Linked DNA regions of Homo sapiens: all the other regions are linked to region 1. The links are contacts of gene promoters, found by promoter capture Hi-C in blood cells and fetal thymus (Javierre and others, 2016). All regions are on one chromosome and are shown on one strand. The core of a region is centred on a gene start or on the middle of the fragment in contact, and the rest is flanking DNA. Distances in the headings are between cores, read along the strand shown.

Evidence for each region. The method cuts DNA at HindIII sites, captures the fragments that hold promoters and counts their contacts. A CHiCAGO score of 5 or more calls a contact.
Region 2: a contact is called between a fragment that was not itself captured here and the fragment with the promoter of MMP16 in region 1, in 2 of 17 cell types (megakaryocytes and M1 macrophages). The highest score is 6.7, in megakaryocytes.
Region 3: a contact is called between a fragment that was not itself captured here and the fragment with the promoter of MMP16 in region 1, in 3 of 17 cell types (M0 macrophages, erythroblasts and M2 macrophages). The highest score is 5.7, in M0 macrophages.
Region 4: a contact is called between a fragment that was not itself captured here and the fragment with the promoter of MMP16 in region 1, in 1 of 17 cell types (endothelial precursors). The highest score is 6.4, in endothelial precursors.

What each region holds. Positions count from the first base shown.
Region 1 is chr8:88,324,648-88,329,320 of GRCh38, forward strand. MMP16 (matrix metallopeptidase 16) reads right to left here and starts at 2,836. Exons shown (of 10, transcript NM_005941.5): 1 at 2,428-2,836. The coding sequence starts at 2,559. It overlaps LOC105375630 (a long non-coding RNA gene), which reads left to right and starts at 3,197. Exons shown (of 8, transcript XR_001745653.3): 1 at 3,197-3,251; 2 at 4,282-4,450. The HindIII fragment of the contact is 7,293 bases long and covers 1,375-4,673 here.
Region 2 is chr8:87,562,978-87,567,650 of GRCh38, forward strand. No RefSeq gene overlaps it. Among named protein-coding and RNA genes, the nearest start is that of DCAF4L2, 310 kb to the right of the region's middle. The HindIII fragment of the contact is 728 bases long and covers 1,759-2,486 here.
Region 3 is chr8:87,587,847-87,592,519 of GRCh38, forward strand. No RefSeq gene overlaps it. Among named protein-coding and RNA genes, the nearest start is that of DCAF4L2, 280 kb to the right of the region's middle. The HindIII fragment of the contact is 3,111 bases long and covers 567-3,677 here.
Region 4 is chr8:87,691,256-87,695,928 of GRCh38, forward strand. No RefSeq gene overlaps it. Among named protein-coding and RNA genes, the nearest start is that of DCAF4L2, 180 kb to the right of the region's middle. The HindIII fragment of the contact is 4,310 bases long and covers 608-4,673 here.

The sequences.
Region 1 (4,673 bases), core at 1,586-4,085:
AACATTCCCAGTGTGTATGTTTTGCAACCAGAATGAGGAACACAATGTAAGTGCCTCTTCTGGAGAGGAAGTGATGGACCATTCTTCCCATTAGTGTTTCCTATCAAAAAAAAGTCAAATAGAAGTGAATCAGGCAGAAATTTATGTCAGAAAACATCCCGTCATTCTGTGTTCTTGACAATATTTCCATTTCACTAGCAGCTACTCCTACAATCTAAAAAAAAGGGGGGGTATCATTACACATAAAGAAGCTTATAAATCCAACCAAAATGAGCTCAAGAGCTTAAAAATACTATTTGAGGATAACATAAACTAAGGCATATAATCTGCTCTAAACCATGAAAAACTTCCCATTTTATTAAGCAAGATTTTAAAGGTCTGAGATGGCACATGACTTATCTGTCAGGCTTAAATCTGTGTAATAAATATGACTAGAATAATTTAAATCCTCTAAAAATGGGAAAATAACTATTTTCTCCATAAACCATTTTTCCCCACACATCTTAATGAAGAAAGAGAAGGGGTCATTGGAATCCAAAATTAAATAAAATTTGTTAGTACAATCATAACTTTTTTGCATAATAATATCTGAACTTACTGAGGGATTCCAATATAAAGAAATACAATCTTTTATGTTTAGTCTCACAAAAAATCTAATAATCATCAAAACTCATGTTATCCTAACCTCTGAAAGCAAATCTAATACTTTCCTAAAGCAGGTAACCATCAATCCAGGCTGTCCTTCCCTTCCCTTATTCAGAAAGACACAACCTTGCACTTACTTTTACCACCTCCCACACACTCCACCTCACCACCATCACCACCAACCTGAAGCAATAGGCCCTTCTGTTTATAACATTATAAATAACAGCTTGCCACTTTAATTCCTCCAGCCTATGAACTAATCCTTCATTTCAACATTAAATTATCTCTTGATTTAAATGTTAGGTACAAAAATCCATCTGTGGCACGTAATTCCAAAAGTTCAAATTTGCAATAAAAAAAGTCTGGACTTTCAAGCCCCTTTCTCTTTTTATCTAGAAAAATAAAGTTGTATTTTTCAAAGGGTTAAACCTTTTTAGTTTTCAAATTGGGTTTTTTTTGTGTAATTTATTCATACTTAATATCTGTGAAGGTCTTTAACTCTTGATAATAGCTCTTACTTTTTCAAATACTTTTTTTGTACTAACCATGACTTATTACATGAAGTCCTAAGAACAGTTTCTATAAACACAGTTATATTCAGAATATGCCTTTACACATGGCATTTATTATGCACACTCTGTGTATCAATTGGTTACATGAAGCATGTTCAAATACTGTGCAACAGGTCTTGCTATTGTGTAAACACACACTCCCAGCAAAATGACAATAAGCTTCATAATATCAACAATATAAGAAAAAAAATCACATTATTCCTTAAAAAATTATTCATAATTCGTTTGAGAGTTCAGAGGACATCAGATCTAATCAAAAGAAGTAAATGTTACTAAGACCCTCTTACTGGCTTTGTATCCCACCGTATATGTGATAAAGTTGTGTTACAGCCCAGGTGTATACACGCTTTCATTGATTTATTGCACATTACTGGCTTCAGTGCTGACTTGATGACAGGAAGAGTACTTTGGCAGAGGTCTGACAAGTCCCTATCCTTAAGTTCCCTTTTGCTTTGTGCCGTCTGTTCCCAAAGCTATCAAAGTAAAGCAAATGACAGTCTAAAACCTCCCCGTTTTGCCACGAGAGTGTGAAATCAAATTAAAAACACACCTCAAAACTATTACATTGGGCCACGTTTATTTTCAATTGGCGGGGGAGGGGGAAAGAAGACACTTAAAAAGAGATGGATTTCATGTCCTCTGTGTAGCCAGATCTAGTTACAGTGTATTAAGTTATGTCTAAATGAAAAAAAAAAAGATTCTCAAGTGTTTTATCACAAAGTAATGTTATTAAACACATCTAGTGTTCCCACGCTCTCCTCTAGATTCTTTGATTTTTAACCTCCTTTGTTAGGCACCAAACACTGGGAGAAAGATTTCAGGAACAATACCTAGGCAGCACATGATGCCAGGGAATTAATTCTGTCTTCCCCGAGCTGTTTATCCATCATAAACTCAAGCTGCCTTATTTAGCTACACGGTTGCTATATGTAGGACTTCTCTTCCCTGGGTGAAAAGCATGGACCGGCTACAATTGTGTCTTTGAGCGCGCAGCATCGTGCTTTGTGCTGCCGGGGATAACGGATTCTGGGTCTCACACGCATCCGTCACCTAAAACACCCTTAAACTGAACCAGGGTCTCCACAGCTGGAAGGGAAACAACGTGCTGGGACCCAGGCTGCTCTGAGCTACAAGGATCCCAGGAGTGAAGGAAATGTTTCAGGGAGCAGCCCAGGCAGCGGGGGGAGGAAGAAAGCCCTCGCACTCTTACCTCCACATTGAAATACTGCTCCGTTCCGCAGACTGTAGCACATAAAATCCAAAGCAAGGTTTGCAAGAAAAACACCCCCGAATGATGCACGAAATCCAACCGTCTTCCAGTGCTGAATGTGAGTAAGATCATAGTGAACTGTGCTTCAATGGATGGACGAGCTCCCCTTCGTTTTCTCCCTCTCTCCCTCTCCCTCCCTCCCTCGTTTCCTTTCAAAAAAAAGTCCTCCGGGTGGGTAAGGAGCCTGCAGGTTCACCCACAGCCGGGCAAGGGGAGGAGACAGGGGCCCCGCGCTCGGCAGCCCCCGAGAGGCAGCGGCGAAGACAGGGTCAGCAGTAGTTCCTGTTCACCATCCTCCGGGGTCAGTCACCGGGAACGTGGCGCCTAAGTTCACCGGCGGTTCCGGCTCAAAGAGCCTAGTCGCAGCCGCAGCAGCAGCAGCCGCCGCCGCCGCCGCCGCCTCCAGCCCGTGCGTCCTCCTCCTGCACTGCCTACTCCTCCTCCTCCTCCGCCGCCGCCGCCGCCCCCAGCTCCTGCGGGAAGGGCCTCCGCCGCTCCTCACTCTCTCGCCTCTGCTTCTCCTTCCCTCCTCTCCTCGCTCCCCTCCAGAATGTTCATCCGTAATCTACATAACTCCTCCTTCCCGGGGTCTGCCTGGCTCTCGGGGCCCTTGGCGCGCGCGCGCGCGCGCACACACACACACACACACACACACACAGAGACACACCGCGACACACACACACACACGCGCGCATACACACAGCCCGACACACACGCACGCGCGCTTCTTAAAGGAGACGGCTCATAAAGGATTCCCCACTACGGTAGGGCGCACCGGAGGTATCCAGCCCGCGACAAGGGCCCTGGTTTGAGCACAGCTCTTCGACAGTATCTCCCATCCCGCATCCCCGAGGCAGGCACCCAGGAACTTGGGCGGCTCCATTCTTTCTTCCCGCCCACCCTGCCGCCTCGCATCTAAAAACGAGTGCGCCCCTCTCCAGCCATGAGCTGGGTGGGGCTCAGGCTGCGGACCCTAGTGGGGCCTGGGGAGCGGCCCAACCCTGGTCCTGGAGAGCGGTCGGCATTCCTGAGGAAGCGGCCCTGGAAGAATAGGGGCGCTGGGAATCAGAGGAGCGCCTGGTCACTGAGCGCCCCTGGGTGGCTCGGGTCGGTGGCCGGGGCTGACCAAGTTTGGGAAGACTGAGATAGCAAATCCCGAACGTCCAAAACTTTGTTGGGGTCCCGAGCCTGTGGCCTGGTGTCTTCCTGAATCCCCTCTACCATAGCTACATTCCGCCTTCCAGGCTTGAGGAGTAGGCACAGGGTTTTGGTGGCGGACTAGACAAATACAGAAGCGGGATGAAAACGCTCACTTTCCAAGTGAACGGTGGACACACGCGCACAGTGGGACCCGGGAGAGATGGTCCTGGGTGTTAACAAAACATCCGATGAGAGGGATGGGGGCGCTGGAAAGAAACCGGCTGCGGGAGCCAGGGGAAGGGTTGGGGAAAGAAGGAGAAGAAGCAGCCTGAGGAAAGGCGAGTAAAGCAGCTGGCAAGGGCGGGAGGAAGAGGCTGCTCGCAGACCGAGCGGGGGAGAGGCTGGCGGGAGCTAGGAGAGCTGCAGGCAAGAGGGGGAGGCGGCTGGCAAGAAGCACGGGCGAACGCGGGCAGGGAACTTCAGAGGAGGCTGCCAGAAAGGACTGGAGCTGTAGCAGTGCGAGGCAGTGGACAGGGGGGGCAGCAACCACCAGCCCTTGGCAAGTGATGGTTTGGCTGAAAGAGGAAGGGGGAAGGGAGCGAGGCAAGCATCTGTTTGGGGGCTAATGCCAGTAAATGTGCTTCTCCTTGGCAGCCAGCAGAGGGGAAGAGGAGCCCACGGGAAAGAAAAGCAGGCGAGGTTAAGAATAAAGAGTGTTCCAGGTATGACAGCTACCTCGGTGAGGTGGAAGAGAGAATTGACAAGGCAAATTTCATGGGTGAGTTGGAAAGGCAAGAAGCAGGACTACAAGAGGTCCTATGTGGTAAGCAGATGGAAAATTCTGAGAATGGTTTGCCAAAAATTGTATTAGACTGCAATAACTTTTATCCAATAAAAGAAAAAAAGGCTGAGGAATGGGACTTTGCAGCTGTTGCTGTAAAAATGTAAGAAATGCCCACCCAACTTGACCCAAGACCCAAGAAGTTCTCAGGGAGACCTTCCTGACAGTCTGCCTTGTGCCCAGCATGTGCTGCCCACAAAATAAT
Region 2 (4,673 bases), core at 873-3,372, 760 kb before region 1:
AGTAAAATATCACAATTGGGACATTGATAATGGCACAGTCAAGATACAGAACGTTTCCATCATCACAAGGCTTCCTTATGTTGCTCTTTTATAATTGCCCTCACCTCTCTCCCACTTCCACTCCCTCCTAAACCCCAAACAACCAGTAATCTATTTTCCATTTTTATAACTTTGCATTTTAAAGACTGTCATATAAATGAAATCATATAATAAGCCACCTTTTAGGATTGGCTTTTACAATTAACATAATTCTCTGGAGATTCCTGGTTGTATTGTTTGTTCTTTCTTATTGCTGAGTAGTATTCCGTGATATGGTAGGACCATATGTGTTTAACCATTCACTCTGAAAAACATCTGGGTTGTTTCCAGTTTTAGACATGACTAGCAAATCTACTAAATCTACTGCAAACATTTATATGCAGGTTTTGTGAGAACATAAGTTTTTGTTTCCCTGGGTTACATACCCTCGAGTATAATTGTTGAATCATATAGTAGTTGCATGTTGAGTTTTCTTTAAGAAACAAGCAAACTACTTTTCCAGAATGGCTGAACAATTTCGCATTCCCACCAGCAATGCATGAGTGATCCAGTTTCTCTACATCCTCACCAGCATTTGTGTTGTTGCTATTTTTTTTAATTTTAGTCATTCTGAATGCTGTACAAGTGTTCTTTCTAAAAGGTAATCTGATTTTTCACACTGCTCAATTCTGTTGACATGTGCTGTTTTTAATTTTATTGTCTATACTTGGGGTATATAACATGATGTTTTGATATACATAGTGAAATAATTGCTACAGTCAAGCAAATTAACTTATATATTACCATAGTTACCTATTTTATAGTAAAAGCCCCTAAAATCTACTCTCTTAGCAAATTTTCAGTAAACAGTATTATTAACTACAGTCCTCGTAGTCCACAAATTGCATGTTTGTACCCTTTGGCCTTTATCTCCCCATTTCCTCCCCTTCCCTGTGCCTAGTAACCAAAATTCTACTTTCTGTTTCTATGTATTTGACTTTTCAAATATACTTTCAGCCATGAGCTTGAGTATGTGTCAATTTTGTCATATTAACATGATATGTGGGAGAATTCAAAAAAAGAGAAAGTTATATGAAAAATTAAAATCCATCTTAAAACTTAAACTTCCCAAGTATACTCCATTTTTCCTCTGTAGCATTTTCAGTTTGTAATTATATATTTATTATGTGACTGTGTGAAATTAGGTCATTTATTTTCTTCCCTTTTATATTGAACTTCCCCACTAGAGAGCAAGAATCCTGCCTCCTGCCTTATGCCCTGCTGCATGGCTTGTGTCTAGTATATAAGAACACCTGATAGAAATTAATAAACAATTACTGAATGTTAATATGTTTCCTAAATATGTTCATTTCTTGAATATAAAATTATTCCATAGATTATCTTAAGTAGTTGTTATGTAAATAATTGCTTAAAAACAGTGTCAGTGAGCATTATATAATGTTTAAACTTTGAATAGTGCATTAGCTTCTTTTTTATCACATATACAACAATTAGAAAGACCTGAGTTAACTCCTACTGGTCTTTAAGTATCAGAGAAAATTCTATTCTTATTCAAAATGGGGCTTTTGTTCCTTTAAAACATTTCTAAACTTTAAAACTTGAGAAGTCTGACCTCTAGTACAAATAAAAATGTCTCCTTTTTATAACTATATGTAATAGCTCTGATAGAAACGCACAGGACTTGTTCAATATTCTTTGCTTCAGACACATTACACATAAAGCTTCCCAAGAGAGAACTTACGTCTATTCTTAAAATTCCCCAATAGAAAAGATGGAGCTATGTTTTACTCTCCCATCTTAATATATGATCCATGGTACATACTTGATTTTGTCAGTTCCCTGTTTACATTTTCTTGCCCTATTGCAGTGCAGCTCTTGCCAGCATGCATATATATTGCCTGAGAGCTATTCTTGCTGGCAGTGTCTTCTTGCCATCTATATTGCAGTCTAGAAGTGCCAGAGAATGAATGCCTCTCCAAGTGTAGATCTCTAACAAAGACTAACAGCAGTTGATTTAGGAACATCACAGTTCTCTTTTGTCTTCATTGGGATAACTCTGAAGCATGTGCCCTATCCTGACTTCCAGAGTTCTTCCAGTGGTGTTGAGCTCTACTAACCAACCATATAACTTGCTTTAAAATGAATTCTTTGTTAGCTGCCTTCATTCCACATTCCTCTGCTGCTGTTTTTGAGAATCACACCCAAAATAAATTGCATCTTAATCTTTATCTCAGCTTGTTTTGGAGGAACCCAAACTAACATATAAATTCACATTTGAAGAAATAAAATTGGAGTTATTACTTTCATTCCAAATATCCCTAATTCTGATGAATGTAATGCAGTGACTTTAATGAGGGAGTCAGTACAAATAGAAAGCAGCTGTTTCCTTCCCCCCTCCCTGCTATCCTATTAAAACCACTTTGTCAATTCATCCCTCTCTGCATGAAAGCTTATGAGGTTCCCATATCTTTTATCTTCACCTTGAAGTTTAATAAATAGTTTCATATTCAACTGTTAAAGCCTACAATTTTTGTAGCCCCACATAGAGGCTGATCAGTCTCAGAAGTCTGCACTGGAGAAAGAAGTAGGGTTTCTTTCTTTCCTGTTTATCTACTTTACTGATCTCCTGTTCCTCCCACTCTTCCACTCTCTCTGCTGTCTCCAGCTCTTCAAGCTTGAAGCTGGGAAAGAGAACAAAGAATCAAATGGAATGTTAGACTGGAATGTTATAATCTGAAATGGTGCAGCTGATGCCACAGGGCCAGTTCTTCTGCTCCTTGGAGTACGGTGGGCTCCTCAGAAATCCAACCGCACCTCTTGCTGCAGACCTTACTCAGCACTCCTCTTGCCTGTGGTGATAATACAGTCTCTTACTGGCAGCTTAAAAGCTTTGCTCCTTCCATCCTTTGCCTTTCCTTCTGCATCCGACAGTACAGACCAGCCTCTTTCAACCAGATTCATCTTTCCTCAGCAGGAAGCCCTTTGGGGTGGGATCATTTTCCAAACAATCGAAGGCCAGATAGCTTCTAGAGTTCCAAGAGACCTCTGGAAATAGTACCCTTGGTTTGGGATGAGCAAAAATAGAATTCACTTCCATCAAAAGCCTCTTGGCTCTTCCTTCTATAAGGCCCACTACAGGCAGCCCAGCCTATTGGCATCGGAATTTTTTCTTTCCTTCTTTCTTTCTTTTTTTTCTTTTTTCTTTTTTTTTTTTTGACAGAGTCTCGCTCTGTCGCCCAGGCTGGAGTGCAGTGGTGCAATCTCGGCTCACTACAAGCTCCGCTTCCCGGGTTCACGCCATTCTCCTGCCTCAGCCTCCCGAGTAACTGGGACTACAGGCGCCGCCACCACACCTGGCTAATTTGCATTTTTTTTTTAGTAGAGACGGGGTTTCACAGTGTTAGCCAGAATGGTCTCGATCTCCTGACCTCGTGATCCACCCGCCTCAGCCTCCCAAAGTGCTAGGATTACAGGCGTGAGCCACCGCGCCCGGCTGGCATCGGACTTCTACAAGTGCAAGTCAACACAAAACCCTGTGCCCCCGACTGTAGGGAGTCCAAATTCTCTGAAGGTCTCTCCCCACCCGCTTGTTCCAGGTTAGTCTTCCTCCTGGCAGGAAGCACACCCAAGCTCTGTCAGAGGATTTTTACAACCTCCCAACTTGGCTCAAGGTATGGAGAAGAAAGGAAAAATCTACAGCTCTTCTCACAGAAACCCATCCTCATGGTCTTTCCTTTATTGCTCTTCTTTTTTCTCCTTGTATTGGCTTGAGGCACGTCATAGACAAAGGCTTATCTGTCTTTTGGGGTTACCCCTTAGCATGTTCTGCACAGCTGGCCTGTCAACTCGCTTTCAAATTAGTGGGTATTTAACAACCTCTCTTTGATCTCTGTAGCTCCAGCTGAAATTCTGAGACAGCAGGAAGAGTTCTCCTTTGACATTCTGCAACAATTCGAATTCACATTCTAAATTTAAAAAAAAAAACTTTTATTTATTAGGTTTTACTATATTCCAAACTTTGGGCTATATCTTGACTGACCATACATTATCAAGTTAGAATTGTCTTTTTAAATACATCATCTGATAGCTTTTTATCAGTGACACAAGTTAGGAACTCAGTTTACATGTATTTTCCATGAAATTATTTTTTAAGCATTGCAACCAACCTATAAGAATATACTGGTGAAGTATGTCTAAGGAAATGCCGGGCCATTTGCTGATATTTTAAAGAAAAGTTAGAAATGCCTTATTATAAAATGTATTGTGAGCCCTAAAATGACAAAAAGAGATATTCATGTCATATTCTGAAACTCACATTACTCACATTAGATTTATAAATTCATCACTGAATATTATTTTAAGTCTTCCACTACTTTTATGTATTTTCCATTTTTTAATTATGAATAAATATTAAAGGCATACACAATTTATTTTTAGATATAAAATTAGCTAGATCAGAATATGGCAGCTGTGTTTTAAGAAATCTTCAAAGGGCTAATATTCTCAGAGCTAATTTTGCATGAGGCAGATTAGTAACACCTGTTAATTGATTTGGCAGCTCTTTAATAATTACTCTAATAACTGGGTAAAAACTGTGGGCTAGCTCACTGCTAGTTCACTTTGTGGTTTCTCAT
Region 3 (4,673 bases), core at 872-3,371, 740 kb before region 1:
AGGTAGATAAGAGACAAAAGATTGCATTATTTTGAGTCCTTGATCAGCTTTTCCCTGAATACACAATTGAGTCTGGCTCAATGAACCAGTATTTTTACATAAACAACAGGGCAGAGGAAGCTATCAGATATGCATTTGTCTCAAGCGAGCAGAGGGATGACTTTCTATCCCACACCTGTGATGACAAGCTATTAGTTTACATTGCCATGGTGAAATTCAACAGAAGTGTTTTAAGGTAAAGATCGTGAGGTCCAGATGGAAATTCCTTGTGGGCAAATTGTGAGGGAGGTTATGTAACTCTTTTACCTTTTTAGCTGTCTTATTTAGGAATTAAAATGGAAGGCAGGCTCCCAGCTCGACTTTTCCCATGGCTTAGTGATTTTGGGGTACACACACTACTGCTACTACTACTACTACTACTACTACTACTACTACCACCACCACCAAGAGATATACAATTATATGCATCAGGAATTACTAACAACACACAGCTTCTCTCATTTACCCTACACAGCTTAAAAACTAATGATAACGTTTGAATTAACTGTCAAGTTTTTTAAAATGAAAGCTTTCATAAGAGGATCTGTACCTCAGCCTTCTTTTGAAAAACTGGAAGATCTATTAAGATCAACACCAGGGTGCACATGACTACTGTATTAAATTTATGTTACTGTCATAACATTACCACAAATTCAGTGCCATAGCAGAATACAATGTATTATCCTACATTTCTGCAGGTTGGAAGTCTGAATGGTTCTCAATGGAGACCCATAAGGTATTGCAGGCTTCATTCTGTTCTGTAGGCACCAGGGAAGAAGCCCATTTCTTGTTTTCTTCCAGCTTCTAGAGACTGCTTGCATTCCTTTCTCTTTCCACCTTCAAAGCCAACCATAGGCTCTGGAGTCTCGCTTACATTGCATCATTGTGACACTGACACTTCTGCCTTCCTTTTCCACATTTAAGAGCCCTTATATTTATGTTGGGCTCACCTAGATAATACAGGATAACATCTTTATTTTAAAATTAGTTGATTGCTAACCTTATTTCCATCTACTACTATAATTCTCCTTTGCCGTGTCATACAATATATTCACAGGTTCTGGGAATTAGGATATGTCATCTTTAGGGGCCATTATTCAATCTATCAAAGCCACAATGTCATGGAGACAAGGAGTAGTAGCCACTTTCCAGGCACATCACATGTGATCCACAACCCTTCCCACTCCTTTCCACTCATTTACAGGTTACTTACTTGGTCTTCATGGGCATCTGAGGTTGTGATTCCTGCTATACGCATGCATGTGCTGTGAAACACAAAGGCTTGTCTTTTAGAACCTAGTCTCATACTCAAGTTCCATGAGCCCAGGGAATATGAGAAACTTTGGAGTGACTCTTAGATTTCATTCTGAGACTCCTGGTATTTCTTTTCCCTCTTCTTATAGACCACAGTGGCAAAATCATTAGATAAGAAAACTAACATTTTTTATTACCCTCCTAGAAACCAGAAACGAAATTACTTATACGTACAGTCACAAAATTTCAGTTGACTTGAATTAGACTAAAATTGCACTTGCAACTAAAGTACCAAAGATTTAGTTGAAAGGTGAGCAGGGTCTTAGTTGCAAAGACTGAGAAGGTACCAGTATCAAAGAAATGGGAAATCTTTTGAAATATAAGCCTACCCAGTCATCCAACTGAGAACTCACATAAACAAATTATTTTTGGGGAATTACTAGAAATGATTTTTGCAGCTAGTATGGAGCTGGATGCAGTTTATGTTCAAAGGATGTTTGTTTAATGAGTAACATTTTGAAACATCTCTTGAAATAATTTGTAGGGTTTTTTTTTTGTTTTATTCCATCTTGTTTGCTTAAATTGTTTATCTGTTTGTATTACAAAGACAAAAAAAGAGAGCCTTTTTGTGATCCATTGAATCCCTGAGAGGAAAAATTATCCATATTCAGACACTTAAGAAGAAAGGGGAGAATAAATAGTAGCTTGTTATATATGACCCTATCCAGGAAGAATACTAACACTCTAAGTTTTGCACTTAATTTTGCTGCAGATCAGGCAGCCACATAATTCTCCTAATCTAAGATATGTCCAAATCAGACAGTACAATGTACATGTTCTTTTCCAATACGATTATGCACAGCAGGGACAGAAGAATACATTGTGGGGCCATTAAACTTAAATTAAAATTACACCTCAGAGTGAAATTTTGCGCTAATGTACATTACGGTACTATAGGCTGGCTTCCTTTCTTCATTGAGTTAAACATGCCCTTGGTTTCATGCTGAAATCTTCTGAGGGGAAAAAAAGCAGATCACAACATTCCCATTTTCATCTACTTTGTACAGGATAATAGCCTTGAGATAGAAACATTTTGTGAAGGTACCCCCTGGGTCTCCTGACCCAACTGTTTAGGCTCTAAGAGGCAAGAGAAGGATTTACAGTCTGCTGTTCAGTCCTTCCTATAAAGGACAAATTATAATGTGATATATTTGAAAAATGTTTTCTCCCATGATGCCTAATTACAAAGATGTAATGTAGCCATTGCTGTAAACTTTAAAAAGTTTTATGGAAGTATGTGGATTATTTAAAGTTTCTAAACATATGTTCCAAATTTTCCTTCTGGGTGATTCAAACTGGAAGCCTGTATGCTTAGTTTCTTTTGAGCCATATTTTATAATGAGATTTAAAATGGTGACTGCAATGTACATAGACCTGCCATATATATATTACCTGCATAAATATTATGAATAATTAATATTCCACGTTTTGGAAGATTCAGTCCTTACCTATAGTTATCTAGTATTTCTTCCTCATTTGTCTTTTGTCTACATATGTACATGGAATAAATAATTTTGGCTGCACAATTTAATGTGATTTCATTTCACAGGAAGTAGACTGTCTATTTGCATGTAGCTTCTTATTTGCAAATAAATGTTCTATTGTCCTAGACGAAAATGATCTGAAATAATTTTAGAATTTAACTAATTAAACTTTTCTATAAAAATGATTAAAATCTGACTTTGTCAGTTCCTCAGCTTGTAAAATCATCACTGAAAAATTTACTTGTATTAAGAGAACTGAAATGATGACTGCTTTCTTGCAAAAATTTTATCGTGTTTTTCTCTCCTCAGTTAGCTTCTATAAAATTAATTCTATGTGATGAGCCAAAAATGAGAAATAATTAGAATCAATGTTCCTTTGTCTAATAAAAGTATCCAAAATTACAATGCTATATGCAAAAAAAGTTTTCAACACATGTAAAACTTTTTGTGAGATAGTAATTTTAAAAAGCGAGCATCCAACCATGACTTTCTCCTTACTGCAATTGATTTTCCGCGCTGCCTGCAGAACTAATTTTTAAAAGATGAATATAATATGTCATCCCTCTGCTTTATGACATCAGTGTATCCTCAGATTTTACATTGTGGTAAGACAACTTTATGGCAAACCTCAGGGTTTATCAGAAAAGTTTTTTGTGCCTTACTTCCTGTAACTGGATAGGCTTGAAATCATGGACAATATATTACCCAATGAGGACACTTTTGAGAGATAAAGAGGAAATAGTTAACCCCATACTGGGACAACAGGCATAAAATGGAAATGTTTGTTGAAAGTTTACTAGTCCATTAAATAAAAAAATATATATATATATGAAAAGCAGAAGCTTATTACTTACTTAGTTTTCAACTAATTGTATATACATATGCTCAGCATGAATTTGTGACTACTTACTCCCTTTGAACCATTCCGCTAGGAGGTGAGACTATAAAGATGAATCGTCAATCCCTGCCTTTGAGACGCAAGGACAAGTACTTGTAAACTTGCTGCATTAATGCAATGGCCCACTCACTTTCTTGATACAACTCTCTCAGGAGGCACCATCACATTTCCACTCTGTCTAGCTGCTTTCCTCCTTCTCTGGCCTTACTAAATTATTAGCCTATGTCTACAGTTTATTTTACAAATACTCTCACACAGTAGGTGTTAAAAATAAATTTCATTTTAGACACAGACTAAAATTAAGAAAACATTCAATTATATTTTGTGAGGCATTAGGTAAAATGAAATCACATATGAATATTCCTTGAGGCACAGGGAATTAGAAAATATTATAAGATTTATTTTCTCTTATTTAAACTTGATGCAAGAAATGGGCATCTTATTAAAACTCATCCTATGTGGAATGCTTATAATTCATTTGGAATGCTTATAATTCATTTTCAATAATTTTTAAGGAATTTATATAAAAGTAATGTGGTGTTACAGTTGCAGGAAAAAAGTTATATTATGTACACAAAGAGTATTAGAATTTTTTGCCTTACTTCCACTCAACGTGTTTTTACAGATATATTTTACCTAATTACAGTTATAATTTTATAAAGCATTTATTCTGTAATTTTTAAAAAAATCTTTCCTTATATCATAACAGACATTTATATTTCTACATACTACTCTATTACCACAGTGCTTTCATTATATTCCAGACAGTGGATATGCTTTATTTTATATTTTATATAGTTATTTCTCTCTTTCAGGTCGCCTAAATCACTTCTATCTTGCTTTCATGTTATAAACATCAATATGGGGAACTTCTCAGTCACTATTTTATATTAACATTTTGGATGAGTTCCTTATGAAAGAATACGTTGTTATTAACC
Region 4 (4,673 bases), core at 1,513-4,012, 630 kb before region 1:
TGATCTGGATATATGGAGAAACTGCTGCGGCAAGAGAGCAAAGTGACTTACTCTTTTCGGTTTCTAAATAGTAGACTTCTGAAACAAATTAATTCAGACATTTGAAAAAAAGATTTTGGAGAATAAAATTTTTAGATGTCCCTTAGTGAATGTTCTTGGTGTTTAACAAGAGTCTTCATTACATCCTGGCAAAGTATTAATTCACGTGATATTTTGTAACATTTTATAACTGAAGAGATGTGATGGAATGAGAAGACTTATGGGTACACTTGGTACTCTAAACATTGCTTGATTAATTCTTTAAAAATCAAATCTTATAAAGAGCCTCTAAGCTAATAAAAGATTACAACCATTTCAGAAAGGTGAGGTTAATTTAATGTCTATTGCCTTAAAAGAAATGTAGATGATGAGAGTATTTGAAAATTCACACAAATGAACGTCACAAAATTGGATAGTGAAATATGAAAATGTTACTATTGACTAAGGTAAGAGTAAGAGCTTGGGAAGTAAGAAAAACTTTCCTCAGATGGCAGACTATTAGTGTGTGGAACAGGCCACCGAAGAAACCAATAAAATCTTTAACTATGAACACAGTGAAAATGATTTAAGCTTTTTGACTATAGAGTTTACAGGTTTTAAACATTAGCTGTGTAAGTGGAAAGACCATTAAGTGCCATATGGGCTCTTTCTTTGACAAAGCATCATTTTAGCAGAGTGGAGGGTGAAAGGGAATCAGGATTTTTATTTTAAATCCAAATTGCTTTATATTTTCAAAGATATAATTAAAATATTAAACAAGTAAAATCTATCATTGTAATAATCAAGATAATAGTAGAAACAAGTTAGCCTGGAGAACTTTTATAGTATCTTGGATTAGTAAAACAATACTTGTCTGTGGTTATCAAGGCCAAGGAAGAAAAAAAAATCAATCAGAGTTATCCCCAAGACTGAAGCATTGTGGAGCTGCAAGGATTTACAATGATAAAATAGATTACCTCCGATTAAGTGTATTCAACAATTTGATCATTATGCAGCTCTGTTTTCTATGAACACCTGTAAGCATAGCAACACAGAATGCTGACAATACCTTCTTAACATTTGCAAATTGAAGAAGATCATGAAGGAAAATATTTCAGTACTTCAAAAACCCCAAACACTTCATTATCTCCAAAAATACCTAGGTCATTGAGTTAAACTGCATTTCTTTATCTCTTGCAATCATTTGGTTGATAATTGCCATGGTCCTTAATATTCTCCAAAATTATTCCTCCACAACTCAATTTCCTGACCCTTTGACTATAAAAGTTCCTGACACAAAATTAGGCACAGGATCATGGGTATACCAGAACCAAAACATATTGTGTTTACTTAATGGCAAATATTGATTCCAAAATCAGAAAGTTTTCCTGACAAATCGCAACCTAAAATCAGGAGACTGTAATTTCGATGACTCTGTAGGCTTACTAATACTCTGATTTTTTTTATGCTATGAAAAATGTTAAACATACTAATCTTCATTCCTTGGGGAGGAAGGGGAAAGAAATCTCCCCTTGCTTTTCTTTATTTTTTACTTTTATTAAGTTCAGAAGTACAAGTGCAGGTTTGTTACATAAGTAAACTTGTGTCATGGAAGTTTTTTGTACAGATCATTTCGTCACCCACTTATTAAGCCTAGTACCCGTTAGTTATCTTTCCTGATTCTCTCCCTCCTCCCACACTCCACCCTCAGGTAAGTGTGTGTTGTTCCCTTTTATGAGTTCATGTGTTCTCATCATTTAGCTCTCACTTATAAGTGAGAACATACCATATTTGGTTTTCTGTTTCTATGTTAGTTTGCTATGGATAATGGCCTCCAGCTCCACCCATGTTCCTGCAAAGGACATGATCCTGTTCTTTTTTATGATTGCATAGTATTCCATGGTCTATAAGTACCATATTTGCTCTATCCAGTCTATTATTGATGGGCATTTAGGCTGATTCCATGTCTTTGCTATTGTGAATGCTATAATGAAAATATACATGCATGTGTCTTTATGATAGAATGATTTATATTCCTTTGGGTATATACCCAGTAATGGGATTGCTGGGTGAAATGGTATCTCTGCCTTTAGGTCTTTGAGGAATTATCACACTGTCTTTCACAATGGCTGAACTAATTTACATTCCCACCAAGAGTGAATAATTGTTCATTTTTCTCCACAACCACCAGCATCTTTCATTTTTTGACTTAAGTGAAATAGAATTACCAGCCTTAAGAAAGGGCTTACAACCCAGTTTCTAAAGAGTTCATCTGATTTAAACACAGACCACAATCTCACTTACAAAGGTCAATATCTCCAAAAAGGAAGTGGACAAGAAGTGGCAGGATCAAATTGCTAGGAAATATTGAAGATCTATCAAGACCTGTAAAAAGCAAAGTGAAAAGGGTCTGTGTAACCTAGATGTCCACGCAAGAGAAATAGTGCAATAGTAGACTTCCTGGTACAACAGTTTTTGATTGCAAATCAGCTCACATGCCCTGATCAATCTGAGATGAATAGTCAAATTAATCTTAATTAAAGCTGAAGTTGCATTGGTTCAAATGTATTATTTTTTCCAGTTAGGATTTTGTCCCATAAATAACAGCAATTGAACAGAAAATATTCAAATCGAGTTGAACATAACAAGTCATGAATGTACAATATGTCCCCAGATGCCCATTCACCTCCAATCTTCTTGGTTCAATTCAGTCAGGTGCTCTGTCCAGGGAATTTTTATTGTATGGTGGTCAATTTGGAAGGTTTTTTTTCTCTGTTTCTATAACTCAGCAGCTTCAACTCTTCCTTACCCTTCATTCCAATGAGCTACTGTCGCTTTTTTTTCAAGACACAGTCCTGCCTTATTGTTATAATTATTTATTTTTAAGAAATTAAAAATGTCTTCTTAACTGTGCTAGTATTTTTATTGGGGTTAGTATTATGTTCATTGGGGCTCTGGTTACAACACTCCATAGATTCTGAGTTGTCTGTTTTTAACTTTTTTTTCCCTCAAGTTTTATCATTTTTAGTATGTAATTTTGTAGCATACAAGGTTTTAAAGAACGTGTATATTGCAACACAGTGAAAATGCCTATATAATTGAGGCTCATAAGCTGCAACAGGGTAGAGCCCAAAAAGTGAAAACACCAGAGACAGAAAAAAAAGTTACTGTTTTCCTCTAACACTGCCTCCTCTCTGAGTTTATTTGTCCTGTCCAGAACACAGGACAACGTTCTGGAATTCCTAGATTTCCATGACCCTCTGATAGGTCTTTGATTTTCTTTTTTTTTTTTCTGATGTGTGTCTTTGTGTGTGTGTGTGTGTGTGTGTGTGTGAGAGAGAGAGAGAGAGAGAGAGAGAGAGAGAGAGAGAGAGAGAGAATGGTGTTTGAAAGAACCGGAGGATAAAATAGAAGATGGCATTAGTTAGCCCTTGCTATTTTACCTAACCACACTCTGTTTAGTCAACATTTAAAGGCTGCAAATATTCACAAAGGAACTAAAGTTGTGAAGATTGGGAAATAAGACCACATTTAGACATTAAAATGTAGTCTCATATTCAACACACTTTTTCACCAAATGTAAGTGAATCATGATGATTTATTTTTATGAAGATGTTTGTATATACTTTTTAAGAATGTGAACATGCTGTTCAATTACACAAGAACCAAGAAGGGTACTTTGTCTCATATGGTTACAACAATTAACTGTTCTTTTCCCCACCTTTCACGTCTAATTCTGTGACTGTCAATAATGTTAACATCACATAATAGGCGTCTTCATACTGTCTGCATCACACAGAAAACTCTGAGCTATTTCAGAATAGAACATCTTATATATCTCTATAACACAATCTTGATATCTCTAACACAATGCTGACACAAATGTTTGTTAAATGAATCAGTAATATGAATACATAAATAAACATGCAAATATTTTGGATGCAATTACTGACCATTTCCGAATCTGTCCAGAGCTAGTATCTTACATATTGGGATCTAATACACTGCCCTCAAAGGACATCCACATCCCATAGTATTTTATGACGACCTCTATTCCAGTGCTTACTATGGTTTGTATTATATTGCATGTTGCTCTGCATATGTCCATTATCACCACTAGATGGGGAGCTTCCAAAGGTACTCTCACATGCCTTCTAGAAATTATAATGTTTTATACTTAGTAGATGTTAAATAAATATTCTCTGAACTTAGTGTCTTAATGGTATTAGAGGCAATAATTTATTTTAAAATATATCAGAAATGAAAATGTCATTAACTTTAGAATCTAGAAATCATTTTTGAATATTTGGAATTATTTCTAGATAAATGATGATTCTAGTAAGGAATTTTAATGGGCAAAATAAACTTTAAAGCATTTTTTTAAATGCTTTAAATCATAGAGTACTCATTAACTTATATAATTGGTTATCATTTATAAAACTAATACCTAATTTTAATTTTTCATAATTAAGAAACACAGGCAATACTTTTCTTAAGACAGCCTTTTAAGGTCTTCTTAAAATGTGAAGAAATAAGATGTCAGACATGTCATTTTTATAGTATCTAAATTCTCAGAGGTTATAATTAGTTAATCCTTCTTGGGAAAAAAGTATCTAATGGAAATATAGAGATGAGGAGCAATTTCTGCACAGAAT